Regions from separate parts of the Homo sapiens genome. Here regions 1, 2, 3 and 5 are each linked to region 4. The links are contacts of gene promoters, found by promoter capture Hi-C in human tissues and cell types (Jung and others, 2019). All regions are on one chromosome and are shown on one strand. Each heading gives the region's core, a stretch centred on a gene start or on the middle of the fragment in contact. The rest is flanking DNA. Distances are from core to core; before and after follow the strand shown. Region 1 has its middle 27 kb from the start of LINC03135. Region 2 overlaps FKBP5 (FKBP prolyl isomerase 5). Region 3 overlaps SLC26A8 (solute carrier family 26 member 8). Region 4 holds the start of CLPSL2 (colipase like 2). Region 5 overlaps SRPK1 (SRSF protein kinase 1).

Region 1 (2,700 bases), core at 16-2,515, 210 kb after region 4:
CCACTGCACTCCAGCCTGGGTGACAGAGCAAGACCCTATCTCAACCATAATAAATTCCCTTTATTTGCGTGCTTTTTTTTTGTAAGAAAATAATGATCACCCTAGGGATCTTGAGGATGAGCCAGAGAAGATTCCTGGCTGTAAATGTGTGATCTCAGAAATTCAGAGGCAGCTTGCACAACCTCCAAAACGAGGACTGCCAGTGAAGGGCTTTGTCTATACTTACTTGGCCTTAGCAGCACACTGAACTCCACTTTTAGTATGGTACATGTGAAGCCTGTATTCTCTGGGGCTGGAGACTATCTCCAGTATTGGTGACAAAACGCATTGAATTTGAGCCAGTTAGTCAAAATCCTGAAACTCAGAATTCCCCAACCCAGCTGTGTATTTTTTCCATCAGCTGGCTACTTATGCATCTGAATGACAGTGACTGACGAAAGTACATAAAAGGACATTCTCTGATGGCTTGAAAAGTTTTGGTAGACCTTCAGTACTTCCCTTCAGATTTTTCTCTACTACATGTCTGACATGGAGATTTCTGTGGGAGGAGAAGGCACTATCTGTAATTGCCCAGAATCTCCACGTGTGACCTTAATAATACACGGCAAGAAAGAGACAGCGTTAAATACAACTCTTAAGATTTTTGACAGCATCTTGTTTGGGTAACTGCAGCCTATAGTTAGAAAAATTAAAGCACAGTTTATAAGGCAGGGATTCTTTGTCTTCTAAAGATGAGGGAACCTTGGAGAATCAAGAATATGGGGAGGACCCAGAATGGTGATGCAGCCTGCCCATGGCCGTCAGGTCACCTGATGCCCTTGCACCATTTTAAAATAGGTCTTTTTCTAGTATGATGAGTGATGCTCTTGGTGTATGGAAGGAGATGTTGGTACTTCCTTAGAATTCCCACATTCGGTGGAACTGAAATGGCAGCAGAGCCATGGGCCTCATAGTCTACTTTGGAATAAATCTATGGTGGGAAGCTTGCCAACGTGTTAAGCAGAGGCATCTTTTTAAAATACACTTTAGGGGCCAGGGATGGTGGCTCACACCTGTAATCCCAGCACTTTGAGAGGCTGAGGCAGGAGGATTGCTTGAGGCCAGGAGTTCAAGACCAGCCTGGGCAACATAGTGAGACCCCATCACTACCACACACACACACACAAATTAATTAGCTACACATGGTGGTGCATGCCTATAGTCCCAGCTACTTGAGAGGCTGAGGTGAGAGGATACTTGAAGCCATGAGTCGTAGGCTTCAGTGAGCTATGATCACGCCACTGCACTCCAGCCTGGGCAACAGAGTGAGACCTTGTCTCTAAAATTAGAAAAAAAAATGTGGCTGCTACATTGTTTCCACCTCTCAAATCTCCACAAGGTCATTGGTCCTTGCTAACCCAGAACTAAGCAGGGAAGGAATTCTGGGACATGTGTTTCCAACTTGGCTTAGTTGACACATTGCAAATACAACATGTGGCTAAGGCTTTCTTTTTTGTTTTTGTTTTTGAGAGGGAGTTTTGTTCTTGTTGCCCAGGCTGGAGTGCAGTGGCACAATCTCGGCTCACTGCAACCTCTGCCTCCAGTATTCAAGTGATTCTCCTGCCTCAGCCTCCTGAGTAGCTGGGATTACAGGTGTCTGCCACCACACCCAGCTAATTTTTTGTATTTTTAGTAGAGATGGGGTTTCACCATGTTGGCCAGGCTGGTCTCGAGCTCCTGACCTCAGGTGATCAACTTGCGTCAGCCTCCCAAAATGCTGGGATTACAGGCGTGAGCCACCGGGTCCGGTCTGTATCTAAGCCTTTCTTGAGGTATTAAATATTTCCAGCCTGGGTCTGCTCTGGGATAATGTGTTTTCATAAGATAACTCCTTATTGTAGGCATTGTTCTTGGCTTAAAGTTATCTCCTTAAAGCTTCTGACTAGGGAAATAAGTGGTAAGAATAAACAGTTGATGAGTATTTGGGGATGCAATGACTAATTCTAGTTACTCTAGTTCTAGTGAATGACTTGATGAGTTTGTATTGTATCTGCTCACAACCGTGTTTCCACACTAAGGACTCCTGAATTTTTTTGTCTTAAAAACTTAAACCCGCTGGGTGTCCTGGCTCACACCTGTAATCCCAGCACTTTGGGAGGCCGAGGAGGGCGGATCACGAGGTCAGGAGATCAAGACCATCCTGACTAACATGGTGAAACCCCGTCTCTACTGAAAATATGAAAAATTCGCCAGGCTTGGTGGTGGGCGCCCATAATCCCAGCTACTCAGGAGGCTGAGGCAAGAGAATGACGCGAACCCAGGAGGCGGAGCTTGCAGTGAGCTGAGATCGCGCCACTGCACTCCAGCCTGGGCGACAGAGCGAGACTCTGTCTCAAAAAATAAAAATAAAAAACTTAAACCCATGTGTATCCTATTGCCCTCTGTGGCTACCAGAGTCTTCCTAACATGACACCAGCCTTTACCTGTAGTTAACAAAATGTGATTCCCCTTCTCCCACTGAGGGATCAGGAACACTGCCTTACTCATCACCATCCTCAGCACCCAGTCCATCATCCCCAAACTAGAACATAGTAGATACTCGGTAAGCTGGCTTTGTCCCTCCTCTGAAGGCAGCCTCTTGTCTGTATCCCAGTGGCCCTTCACTCCTGTTACCTGAGATGTGGAGGCCAAAGCCCCATGATACTGTGGTTGTCCCTGCAG
Region 2 (2,700 bases), core at 18-2,517, 160 kb after region 4:
CTCTGGTTAATTTTAATTATTCGTTTTATTTTGGATATGTGAAACATTACCATGATTTTAAACTATATAAAAAACGATATACTCAAAAGTGTCATTTCCCCCTCATCCTTATTAACCTGTTCCCACTTCCCCATTATTTCCACCCTATTCCAGTCTCATTAGTTATATCATTAGATCCTGGTTTTTCTTCCTGTATTTTATTACGTTTTATGTCATTTTATTTTTTTCTGTTTCTGTTAACAAAGGGAGCCAGTCGTGGTGGCTCACACCTGTAATCCCAGCACTTTGGGAGGCTGAGGCAGGAGGATGGCTTGACCTCAGGAATTTGAGACCATCCTGAGCAACATAGAGACCTTGTCTCTGCAAAAAGTTTAACATTTAGCCACATGTGATGGCACATGCCTCTAGTCCCAGCTACCCAGAAGACTGAGGTAGGAGGATCTCTTGAGCCCAGGAGTTCAAGGCTGCAGAGAGTTGTGATCATGCCACTGTACTCCAGCCTGGGCAACAGAACAAGGCTCTGTCTCAGTTTGAAAAAAAGAGAGAAAGAACAAAAGAAAGGGCAATGACTAATCTTTTGTCTTTCATCTTGTTAGAATGTACTTTCCTGGGAAATTTTAGATTAAATGGTTGATTTTACTTTTTCACTCAAAAGACCGTCTTGGTTTTCTGGAACAAATCTATTTCATAGAAATTTATTGTGTTATACTTTCATTTATCAAGGTTAAAATGTCCTGGTTTTTCCTCCTTTAAACAAGTTAGCTATCTGGGGGAGGAGAAAAAAGATTACCCTAAAGGTGGTCCTGTTCAAAACCAAGATCACCTTGTTCTTTTTGAAATCTTCTCAGTCTTTACTGGTTTGCCTTTTCTTTATAGCATCACCAAATACACTTAGATGTGAAACCAGATATAAAACCTGGAACTAGGCCAGGTGCGGTGGCTCACGCCTGTAATCCCAGCACTTTGGGAGGCCGAGGTGGGCAGATCACGTGAGGTCAGGAATTTGAGACCAGTCTGGCCAACATGGCAAAACCCCATCTCTACTAAAAATACAAACAATTAGCTGGGAGTGGTTGTGGGCACCTGTAATCCCAGCTACTTGGGAGGGTGAGGCAGGAGAATTGCTTGATCCTGGGAGGTGGAGGTTGCAGTGAGCAGAGATTACGCCACTACACTCCAGCCTGGGTGACAGAGGGAAACTCCGTCTCAAAAAAATAAATAAATAAAATAAATAAAACCTGGAACTAAAGCCGGCTATAGAGTGAACAAGAACAATAGACACTGATCACCCATTACAATATGTTGTTATAGATACGTGATTTACTAAATTTCTGTCATTTCTGTGTAAAGAGACAATGAAGTGGTATGGAGGAGGGGACAGATAGACTTTGTAAGTGATGGACTTGATTTTTGAATCTTGGAATTGCTACCTGATACTTTTATGACTTTAGACAAGTTACTTAACTACGTGGAGCATTCAGTTTTTTTAATCTGTCAAATGGGAATAGTTTTCACTCCCACAGGTTGTGTGACAGTGATAACGGTTTGGCTGTGTGCCTACCCAAATCTCGTCTTGAATTGTAGTTCCCACAATCCCCACGTGTCGTGGGAAGGACCCACTGGGAGGTAACTGAATCGGGGGGGCATTTTCTCCCATGCTGTTCTCATGATAGAGTGAGTTGTCACGAGATCTGATGGTTTTATAAGGGTCTGGCAGGGAAACCCTGCTGGCTCTTCCCTCTTCTGCCGCCATGTGAAGAAGGGTGTGTTTGCTTCCCCTTCTGCCATGATTGTAAGTTTCCTGAGGCTTCCCCAGCCATGTGAAACTGTAAGTCAATTAAACCTCTTTTCTTTATAAATTACCCAGTCTCAGGCAGTTCTTCATGGCAGCGTGAGAATGGACTAATACAAACAGTTACAAAGAAGAGTGTCAGACATTTAGTGGACACTTAATTTCTTCTACCCTATATATTGTGTTTCACTAATTTGTTTTGCTTCCTTTTAATTGATCTAAGGAAAAAGATCCTTGACTCCTCTTTTTCTTTTTCTGTTGCCCAAGCTGGAGTGCAGTGGGCCAGGCTGGAGTGCAATGGCGCATCTTAGCTCACTGCAACTGCTGCCTTCCGGGTTCAGGTGATTCTCCCACCTCATCCTCCCAAGTAGCTAGGACTACAGGCACGTGCCACCACACCCAGCTAATTTTTGTATTTTTAGCAAAGACGGGGTTTCGTCATGTTAGCCAGACTGGTCTTGAACTCCTGACCTCAGGTGATCCACCTACCTTGGCCTCCCTAAGTGCTGGGATTACAGGCGTGAGCCACTGTGCCTGGCTGACTCCTCTTTTTCTTATCTCCTACATGTCATCCATCAGCAAATCCTCTTGGCTCTACCTACCATGGTTATTAGAGACCTAAAATTGTCTCTAATAACAGTCTTCAAATTAATGATATATCTTAATAGTAATCTTATCTAAATCACATTTCTCAAGGTTCCGGGGAAAGAATAACATTATGGACTCAAAAAGGTTTTTACTGAATTGTAAACTTTTACTTCCTTTTCATAATTTGTCTCTGTGTGGAAGAGAAAACTTAGGTTAGTTTGATGGGATTTATTCTTTCTCAAGGAAATTTTGATTTTTACTCTTTATATGAGGATCCTAATGGTTACAAATCAGTTTTTAGAATCTGTCCCCCTACGCTT
Region 3 (2,700 bases), core at 138-2,637, 230 kb before region 4:
CACACCTGTAATCCCAACACTTTGGGAGGCTGAGGGAGGTGAATCACTTGAGGTCAGGAGGTCGAGACCAGCCTAGCCAATATGGCAAAACCCTGTCTCTACTAAAAATACAAAAATTAGCCAGGTGTAGTGGTATGTGCCTGTAATCCCAGCTACTCGGGAGGCTAAGGCAGGAGAATTGCTTAAACCTGGAAGGCAGAGGCTGCAGTAAACTGAGATCACACCACTGCATTCCAGCCTGGGTAACAGAGCGAGACTCCATTGGAAAAAAAAAAGATTTCATAGCTATATGAATGAATGAATCCAACCAGCTCTTAATACTTGATTAAGGGATTGAACATTAGTTTAATTGATGTGAATAATAAGATAATTTGTAGTGTGAATAATTCAAAAATTGTACTTACATTTGAATACCTGATGACAATAATTTTATTCAAATGAAACAAAAATACTATATGATGAAGACCTTATTAAAAAGGTGCTGGATCTTCCTTACAGTAGAATTCCAATTTATAAATGTAGAATTAAAGAAGAAAATACAAAATCACCTTCATGAAAACACTACAGTAATAATTGTACATAAAATCTACCCAGTGGATGCTAAAACCAGTGGGTGAAAATTTGCAAACTAAGAAACAGGATTTGCATATTTTCAAAGTATCTCCCTCGAGATATTTATTAACTACCCCACCACTTTACAATAGAAAACCTAGGAGAAAATAGCTTAACTAAGTGATTAATGTGAGCATCACCAGTAGTAAAATATATGGATATCATGAATCCTGTGATATGATACAATGAGAAAGATACAACATCATTTCTGTAGTATTCTTGCCAAAAGTGTATAACCTTAGTACAATCATAAGGAAATATAAGACAAACCGAAATTGAGGAGTGTTTGACAAAATAACTGATCTATTAATACTCTTAATTTGTCAAAGTCATGAAAGACAGGTAAAAATTAAGGAACTGTTATAGATTGCAGGAATAAGGGGAAATAACAACTAAATGAAATGTGAGACTCTGGATAGAATCCTAGAACAAAATGAAAGACATTAGTAAAAAAACTGATGAGATTCAAATAAAGTTTTTAATTTCTAATGTTAATTTCCTAGCTCTGATCAATATACTATGACTATATAAAATATTAACATTAGGAGAAGCTGTGGAAGGGATATATGGAAACTGCATTATTTTTGTAACTTTTCTGTAATTCTAAAATTAGTTTAAAATTTTTGAAAATTTTAAGGTGTTGGAAAGTTTGGAAATTTTAATTCCCTCTATTTCACTATGGCCTAAACTTAAATGAGACTAGATAACTTAATTCTCAGATTGTTAACCCAGTAATTCTCTTACCTTCCCAGCATTGGTTAGTTATTTAAAACTAACAAAAGATTTTTTCTTCATGCTACACGCTGCTTTTCAAGAGTAAATGGGGGCCAGGTGTGGTGACTCATGCCTGTAATCCCAGCACTTTGGGAGGCCAAGGCAGGCAGATCGCTTGAGCTCAGGAGTTCAAGACCAGACTGGGCAACATGGTGAAACCCTTGTCTCTACTAAAAAAAAAAAAAAAAAAAAAAAATTTAACTAGGTGTGGTGGTGCAAGCGCCTGTAGTCCCAGCTACTTTGGGAGGCTGAGGTGGAAGGATCACTTGAGCCTGGGAGGTTGAGGCTGCAGTGAGCCAAGATCGCACTCCAGCCTGGGTGACAGAGCAAGACAGTCACACACAAAAAAAAGAAAAAAAGTAAATAGGGGCTATTCAACATTACAACATTATAATGGAGTGCATACACAGTATATTAAAGCAAGAAAAAGAAGTACAAAGTATAAGAATTATAAATGAATAAAGCTTCATTATTCACAGATGATTTTTATGCAAAGAATTCAAAAGAATATAAAGAAAATTGATATGACTTTTTTAAAAGCAAAAAAAATTTTAAAAAGGCATAAAAAAAGAAAAACAAAGAAAATAGTAAGATTTTATGAATGTTGCTGGATACTAAATCAGCATATAACAATCAGTTATGCTTAGGTGCAATGGCTCATGCCTATAATCCTAGCACTTTGGGAGGTTGTGGCGGGTGGACTGCTTGAGCCCAGGAGCTCAAGACCAGCCTGGCAACACAGTGACACCCTGTCTCTATGAAAACTACAAAAAATCTAGATGGGCATGGTGGTGCATACCTGTAGTCCAGCTACTTGAGAGACTGAAGTGGGACGATTCCCTGAGCCTGGGAGGTTGAAGCTGTAGCGAGCTGTGATTACACCACTGCACTCTAGCCTGGGCAACAGAGCGAGACTCTGTCTCAAAAAAAAAAAAAAAAAAAGCAGAAATAAAATTGTGTTCAGTATAACTCTTAATATAAAGTTCAAAATGGGAGCAAATTAAACTGTATTGTGTAGGGATACGTACACTACTGGTAAAGAAAAGCAAAGAAATAGGCCGGGCATGGTGGCTCACGCCTGTAACCCCAGCACTTTGGGAGGCCGAGGCAGGCAGATCATGAGGTCAGGAGATCGAGACCATCCTGGCTAACATGGTGAAACCCCATCTCTACTAAAAATACAAAAAATTAGCTGGGCGTGGTGGCAGGCACCTGTAATCCCAGCTACTCAGGAGGCTGAGGCAGGAGAATGGCGTGAACCCGGGAGGCGGAGCTTGCAGTGAGCCAAGATTGTGCCACTGCACTCCAGCCTGG
Region 4 (2,747 bases), core at 224-2,723:
GGCCCAAGAATCGCTTGAACCCAGGAGGCAGAGGTTGCAGTGAGCCGAGATCATGCCATTGCACTCTAGCCTGGGTGACAGAGCGAGACTCCATCTCGAAACAAACAAACAAACAACAATAAGCATTTATTGAGCACCTACTATGTGCAGATACTAAGCTGGGGGTAGGTGCTTCATAGATGAATATGATGCGATCCCTGCCCTTGAAGAGTTCCAACCACTGGGAGAGGCAGAGAAAAGACATGGCCAGTTAGGGAGATACATGGTCTGCTGAGGGTCTGACCCCAGGGTACAGGAGCTCCAAGGAGGGAAGCCTTCTCAGAGGAGGTGGCTGGAGTTGTTTTGCACCATGAGTAGGAGTTTGCCAAGTGGAGAAGAAGAAGGGCACTCCAGACAGAGGTGAAAAAACAGGTGGGGCCAGGTGTTTTTTTTTTAACCTCCCTGCCCGCTTCTCTACTTGCCAGAAGTTGCCCCATACTAGGGCCTCACCTGGGGCAAGCAGATCATGGTTATTCTGGCCCTGGGGGCACAGAAGGCTCCACCGGAGTCCAAGTCCATGAGGCAGCAGCCACTGTAGCACTCAGAGTGGTGGAAGCACCTGTCTGTGATTTTCTGTGGGGACAGGCAGAATGTCTGCCAGGCTGGGAGCAATCCCTGAGTCGTGTGGGCGGGTAGGGGAGGGTTCCCACCATTGCCAAAGAGCCCAGGGATCCAGGAGAAGTCATGAGGTTGTCACCCCTTGGGGGGCTGGTTCCCCCCCCAGCCCCACCCCGGCCCCTCAGCAGGACCCAGGGCAGCAGAGAGGAGGAGAGGGGGATTAGCACTTTTCCCTCGGCCTCTCCTTTCCTGGACCCCCCTCACCTCCATGAGTCCCATGGGGTGTGTACTCTTAAGTCCCATTTTGCGGGGCAGGGTTGGGGGATGAGAATGAAGGGGCTGCGGGCTCGAAAAAGAGGGAGAGAAAGAGGAGAAAAGGGGAGAGCCCTCGTGCCTGGAAGAATCACTAGACAGTGAGAGGAGGTGGAAGAAGAGGAGGAGAAACCAGAGCATGCAGGGTGGGTTTGCCTGTGAGCAGTTTGGGGAGGGAAGCGAGCCCAGGACTGAGGCCATCGGAAGGGGCACGGGCGGGGGAGGTGGAGGGAGCGAGGGTGCTGGTCATAGGCCAATTTCTCTCCCCTCTGAGGCCACCAGGGGAAAGTGAAGCGGCTTTTGAAGTCCGTCTGAGGATGCCCCAGGCTACCCGCCTGGGTGTGGTTCCGGACCCACCTCTCCCTTTCAGGCTGCCCGGCGCCTTCGGGCTCCAGTGCCCCGGCGGCGGGGCCACCCTCTCCTGCGGTCGCGGCCGGCTGGGCGCGCTCCCCGGCTCACCTTTTTATATTGCGGAAGCGCGCTCCAGAGGGGCAGCACCGCCCCCGACAGGACCCCCGCCACGAGCGCCAGGGCTGCGGCCATGGGCCTGGGCGGCAGAGCAGCGGCGGGGTTCCGAGGGGCCGCGGGATAAAACCTCTTCCCCGGCCACGTGACCCGGCGCCCCAGGCCACCCCGGCGGAGGAGGGACGTGGAGGGCGAGGACGCCTGCGGAAGGGAAGGAGGGAGGAAAGGCGCTCAGGCTCGCACGGGCGGGATTCCAGACTGTAGGGGCCCTGGGAGCCTCCATACGTGTTACTTCCAAGTAGAAGCTTGAAACTGTAAGATAAAACTCTATTTTTATTGTAAGATAAAACTCTATTTTATTGTATTTATTTATTTTACAGACGGAGTCTCGCACTGTCGCCCAGTGCAGTGGCGTGATCTCGGCTCACTGCCATCTCCGCCTCCCAGGTTCAAGTGATCCTCCTGCCTCAGCCTCCCGAGTAGCTGGGACTACAGGTGTGCGCCACCACGCCGGGATAATTTTAAAAATTTCTGTAGAGACGGGGGTCTCCCCATGTCGCCCAGGCTGGTCTCTAACTCCTGGCCTCAAGTGATGGTCCTGCTTCAGCCTCCCAAAGTGCTGGGATTACAGGTGTGAGCCACCGCACCTGGCCTCAAAACTTTATTTTTATAAACGGCACAAAACATATATGCTGAAATAAAAAGAGCTTCCTTCCTGATGTTGATTCTCTGTCTGCCCTTGCAGCCCCAGATTCTCCCCTTACCTTCGGGATAATCCAGCCCCACCCTCTGGGCTGCTCACACCCGCTGCAGGCCCCATTCTCCTCTTCTGTAAGAACCAGGAGGTGGGACAAGATGGTCTCTAAGTCTTAAATCTCTTGCAGTCTTAATCATTCTATTAATTGTCTAAGGATTTGTCTGTGAATTGTGTGAAAGTCAAGATGTGGGGGCAAAATGGAGAAGTGGGAAGAGAAGAAAACTCAGAATAGGGAGGAGGGTTAAGGGAGAGCTAGAGCTGCACAGAGCAATCCTGGAACCGGGGGAGGCAGGCCTTCCTCAGGACTTCCCTATGGATGAAGCTTCCACCTCACCCCACCTGCCTGCTTCTGCTTTTTTTTAATTTCTATTTTTTTTTAATTTTGTATTGTTAATATTTGTTATAGAGACAGGTTGTCCTTATGTTGTCCAGGCTGGTCTTGAACTCATGGGCTCAAGAGATTCTCCTGCCTCGGCCTCCCAAAGTGGTGGGATTACAGACGTGAGCCACCACTCCCAGCCTGCTTCTGCTTTTGAAGTTTCGCTTAAGAAATGAACCGAGGAATCCTGTCTTGGTGGGGAATAACAGCCAAGAATAACAGCCCCCACCGCACTCA
Region 5 (2,703 bases), core at 28-2,527, 140 kb before region 4:
GAAAACTGATCAGGACCTAAAGATATAAAAACAAAGCGTTTAAATGAAAATTTTAGAAAGTTTTGGAACTGTTACAGTAAATAGCATCCTTAGTAATTTAGTCGTGTTGTGTCACAGGCAGAAGGGATTTTCAGTCCCCTGGTACTGCAGATCTTAAACCCAGGGTCTTGAAGCTGGTGACAGAAGAACCAAAACTTGGAATTCAGGGTCCCTTTCCAGCTCTGTGTTTGTTAGAGTGGATTTCCTTTGGGTTCTTTTCACTGTGCTGGAGTATTTGACTTTGGGATTTTAAATTTTCTTATTTAGACAATTCTTCATTTTACTTTTGTGGACGCTGTGCTTTTATTTACTAACATTAACTAGTTGGTGATGATCTCCATTTTACTTTACAGATAAGAGAATTGAGGTTTGTCAGATTACTCCCCTAGAAAATTGCAAAGCTGGGATTTGAACCCAGGTCTGACATACCCAAAGCCCTGGCTACCAATCATGTGTTTCTAAGTGACAGTGCTTTTGGTGTGTCTTACAACAGGTAAGGTAGAAGCTGAGTTGAAAGAGGCTTCTGAATGAGAGACCTCTGGATGCTTGGGGGTTTGGGTGCCCTTTCATGACATACTGTCCTGTGTCTATGAAACAGCACAATCATCTATCTCCCTCTGAACATTTGTTTTCAGTGTTTATACCAATAGCTGTGAGCCTTTATTTGTTTGTCATAAGCTTTTATAATTTAACAGTGTGTGTCTGTTTTTGTTTTGTTTTGTTTTGTTTTTTGAGACAGAGTCTCACTCTGTCACCCGGGCTGGAGTGCAGTGGCGCATTCTCAGCTCACTGCAACCTCTGCCTCCCGGGCTCAAGCCATTCTCCTGCCTCAGCCTCCCAAGTAGCTGAGATTACAAGCACCTGCCACCACGCCCGGCTAATTTTTGTATTTTTCGGGGTAGAGACAGGGTTTCACCATGTTGGCCAGGCTGGTCTCAAACTCGACCTCGAGTGATCCACCTGCCTTGGCCTCTCATAGTGCTGGTATTACAGGTGTGAGCTACCGTGCCTGACCTATATGTCTGTTTTTGAAGTTGTTTCTATGGAACATAATTCCAGAATGGATTTCATACTTACTGATTTTATTACTTACCTTAGGAAGCTGGTTTGGACAGTAATTTTCACTTTATTTGCAGTTAAATAATTATGGATTTAGTATACATTTGGTAGTAAAATTAATTCAGCTCTAACACTGATTTGTGGAGTCATTTGGGAGATATATTGAAAATTTACTTGAATTTGGCCACAAATTAAAAAAAAAATTTACAAGAGAAAATACTTAAATATCTAACATTTTTATTCAGTAGGAAGTAGAGCCAGTAAATTTGAAACAATTTAAAAAATGAAATAGTATTTGATGCTTTTTACACTTAGCAGTGCACCTTGGAAATTGGTTCTATATTCCATATAGTGCAGCCTTACTATTTTTTTTAGGGTCTGCCTTTTTCACTGAGTCTTAGAAATAGTTCCATGTCAGGACAGAAAGAGAACCTCATCTAGCATTCCATTAAGTTGATATGCCATAATTTAATTAATTAATTAATTAATTTATTTATTTATTTATTTGAGGCAGAGTCTTCGCTCTTGTCATCCAGTCTGGAGTGCAGTGGTGAGATCTCAGCTCACTGCAACCTCAGCCTCCTGGGTTCAAGCGATTCTCCTGTCTCAGTTTCTCGAGTAGCTGGGATTACAGGCACATACCACTGTGTCCAGCCAACCATAATTTATTTTAATTTTTATTAATAAACGTGTGTGTGTGTGTGTGTGTGTGTGTGTGTGTGTGTGTGTGTGTGTATATATTTTTTTTTTTTTTTGTTTTTGAGACAGAGTCTCGTTCTGTCGCCCAGGCTGGAGTTCAGTGGTGCAATCTCGGCTCTCTGCAACCTCCGCCTCCTGGGTTCAAGTGATTCTCCTGCCTCAGCCTCCAGAGTAGCTGGGACTACAGGTGTGTGCCACCACGCCCCACTAATTTTTTGTATTTTTAGTAGAGACGGGATTTCACCGTGTTAGCCAGAATGGTCTCCATCTCCTGACCTCATGATCCGCCCACCTCGGCCTCCCAAAGTGCTAGGCTTACAGGCGTGAGCCACCGCACCTGGCCTGTATATACCTTTAAAGACAAAAATGGAATCACTGGGCATACTTTTCCCTAGTTAACATTATCATGAGTATTTTTCGTGTATTAAATATTCCACTATGGGCTGTTTCCAGTTTTTCACAATTAATTCACAGCTATAGTGAATAATCTTTTGGACAAATCATTGCTTACATCAGTGATTATTTCCTTAGGATAAATACTTCGAATGGTATATACATTTAAAATATTTTTAGTTCATTTTGTCAAAATTTTGTCCAGCAAGATTTTTCTTTTTTTTTTTTTTTTTTGAGACGGTGTCTTGCTCTGTCGTCCAGGCTGGAGTGCAGTGGCGTGATCTCGGCTCACTGCAAGCTCCCCCTCCCGGGTTCATGCCATTCTCCTGCCTCAGCCTCCCGAGTAGCCGGGACTACAGGCGCCCGCCACCATGCCTGGCTAATTTTGTTTTTGCATTTTTAGTAGAGACGAGGTTTAACTGTGTTAGCCGAGATGGTCTCGATCTCCTGACGTCGCGTTCTGCCCGCCTCAGCCTCCCAAAGTGCCAGGATTACAGATGTAAGCCGCCATAC

The links. Contacts are between HindIII fragments. The study calls those that stand out against the background at their distance.
Region 1: a fragment that was not itself captured here is called in contact with the fragment with the promoter of CLPSL2 in region 4 in 1 of the 25 tissues and cell types used here (liver).
Region 2: a contact is called between a fragment that was not itself captured here and the fragment with the promoter of CLPSL2 in region 4, in 1 of the 25 tissues and cell types used here (stomach).
Region 3: a fragment that was not itself captured here is called in contact with the fragment with the promoter of CLPSL2 in region 4 in 2 of the 25 tissues and cell types used here (aorta and stomach).
Region 5: a contact is called between a fragment that was not itself captured here and the fragment with the promoter of CLPSL2 in region 4, in 1 of the 25 tissues and cell types used here (pancreas).

Annotation. Positions count from the first base shown.
Region 1 is chr6:35,569,689-35,572,388 of GRCh38, reverse strand. No RefSeq gene overlaps it. Among named protein-coding and RNA genes, the nearest start is that of LINC03135, 27 kb to the right of the region's middle. RefSeq lists an enhancer at 2,683-2,700. The HindIII fragment of the contact is 3,769 bases long and covers 1-2,700 here.
Region 2 is chr6:35,611,741-35,614,440 of GRCh38, reverse strand. All of the region lies in intron 5 of FKBP5 (FKBP prolyl isomerase 5), which reads left to right. Among named protein-coding and RNA genes, the nearest start is that of MIR5690, 52 kb to the left of the region's middle. The HindIII fragment of the contact is 7,513 bases long and covers 1-2,700 here.
Region 3 is chr6:36,003,703-36,006,402 of GRCh38, reverse strand. The region is part of intron 3 of SLC26A8 (solute carrier family 26 member 8); the gene reads left to right. The region is part of intron 2 of LOC105375034 (a long non-coding RNA gene); the gene reads right to left. Among named protein-coding and RNA genes, the nearest start is that of SLC26A8, 20 kb to the left of the region's middle. The HindIII fragment of the contact is 5,572 bases long and covers 1-2,700 here.
Region 4 is chr6:35,775,324-35,778,070 of GRCh38, reverse strand. It overlaps CLPSL2 (colipase like 2), which reads right to left and starts at 1,473. Exons shown (of 3, transcript NM_207409.4): 1 at 1,369-1,473; 2 at 490-612. The coding sequence starts at 1,452. RefSeq lists a silencer at 1,363-1,492. The HindIII fragment of the contact is 15,017 bases long and covers 1-2,066 here.
Region 5 is chr6:35,915,128-35,917,830 of GRCh38, reverse strand. All of the region lies in intron 2 of SRPK1 (SRSF protein kinase 1), which reads left to right. Among named protein-coding and RNA genes, the nearest start is that of SRPK1, 4.6 kb to the left of the region's middle. The HindIII fragment of the contact is 5,314 bases long and covers 1-2,703 here.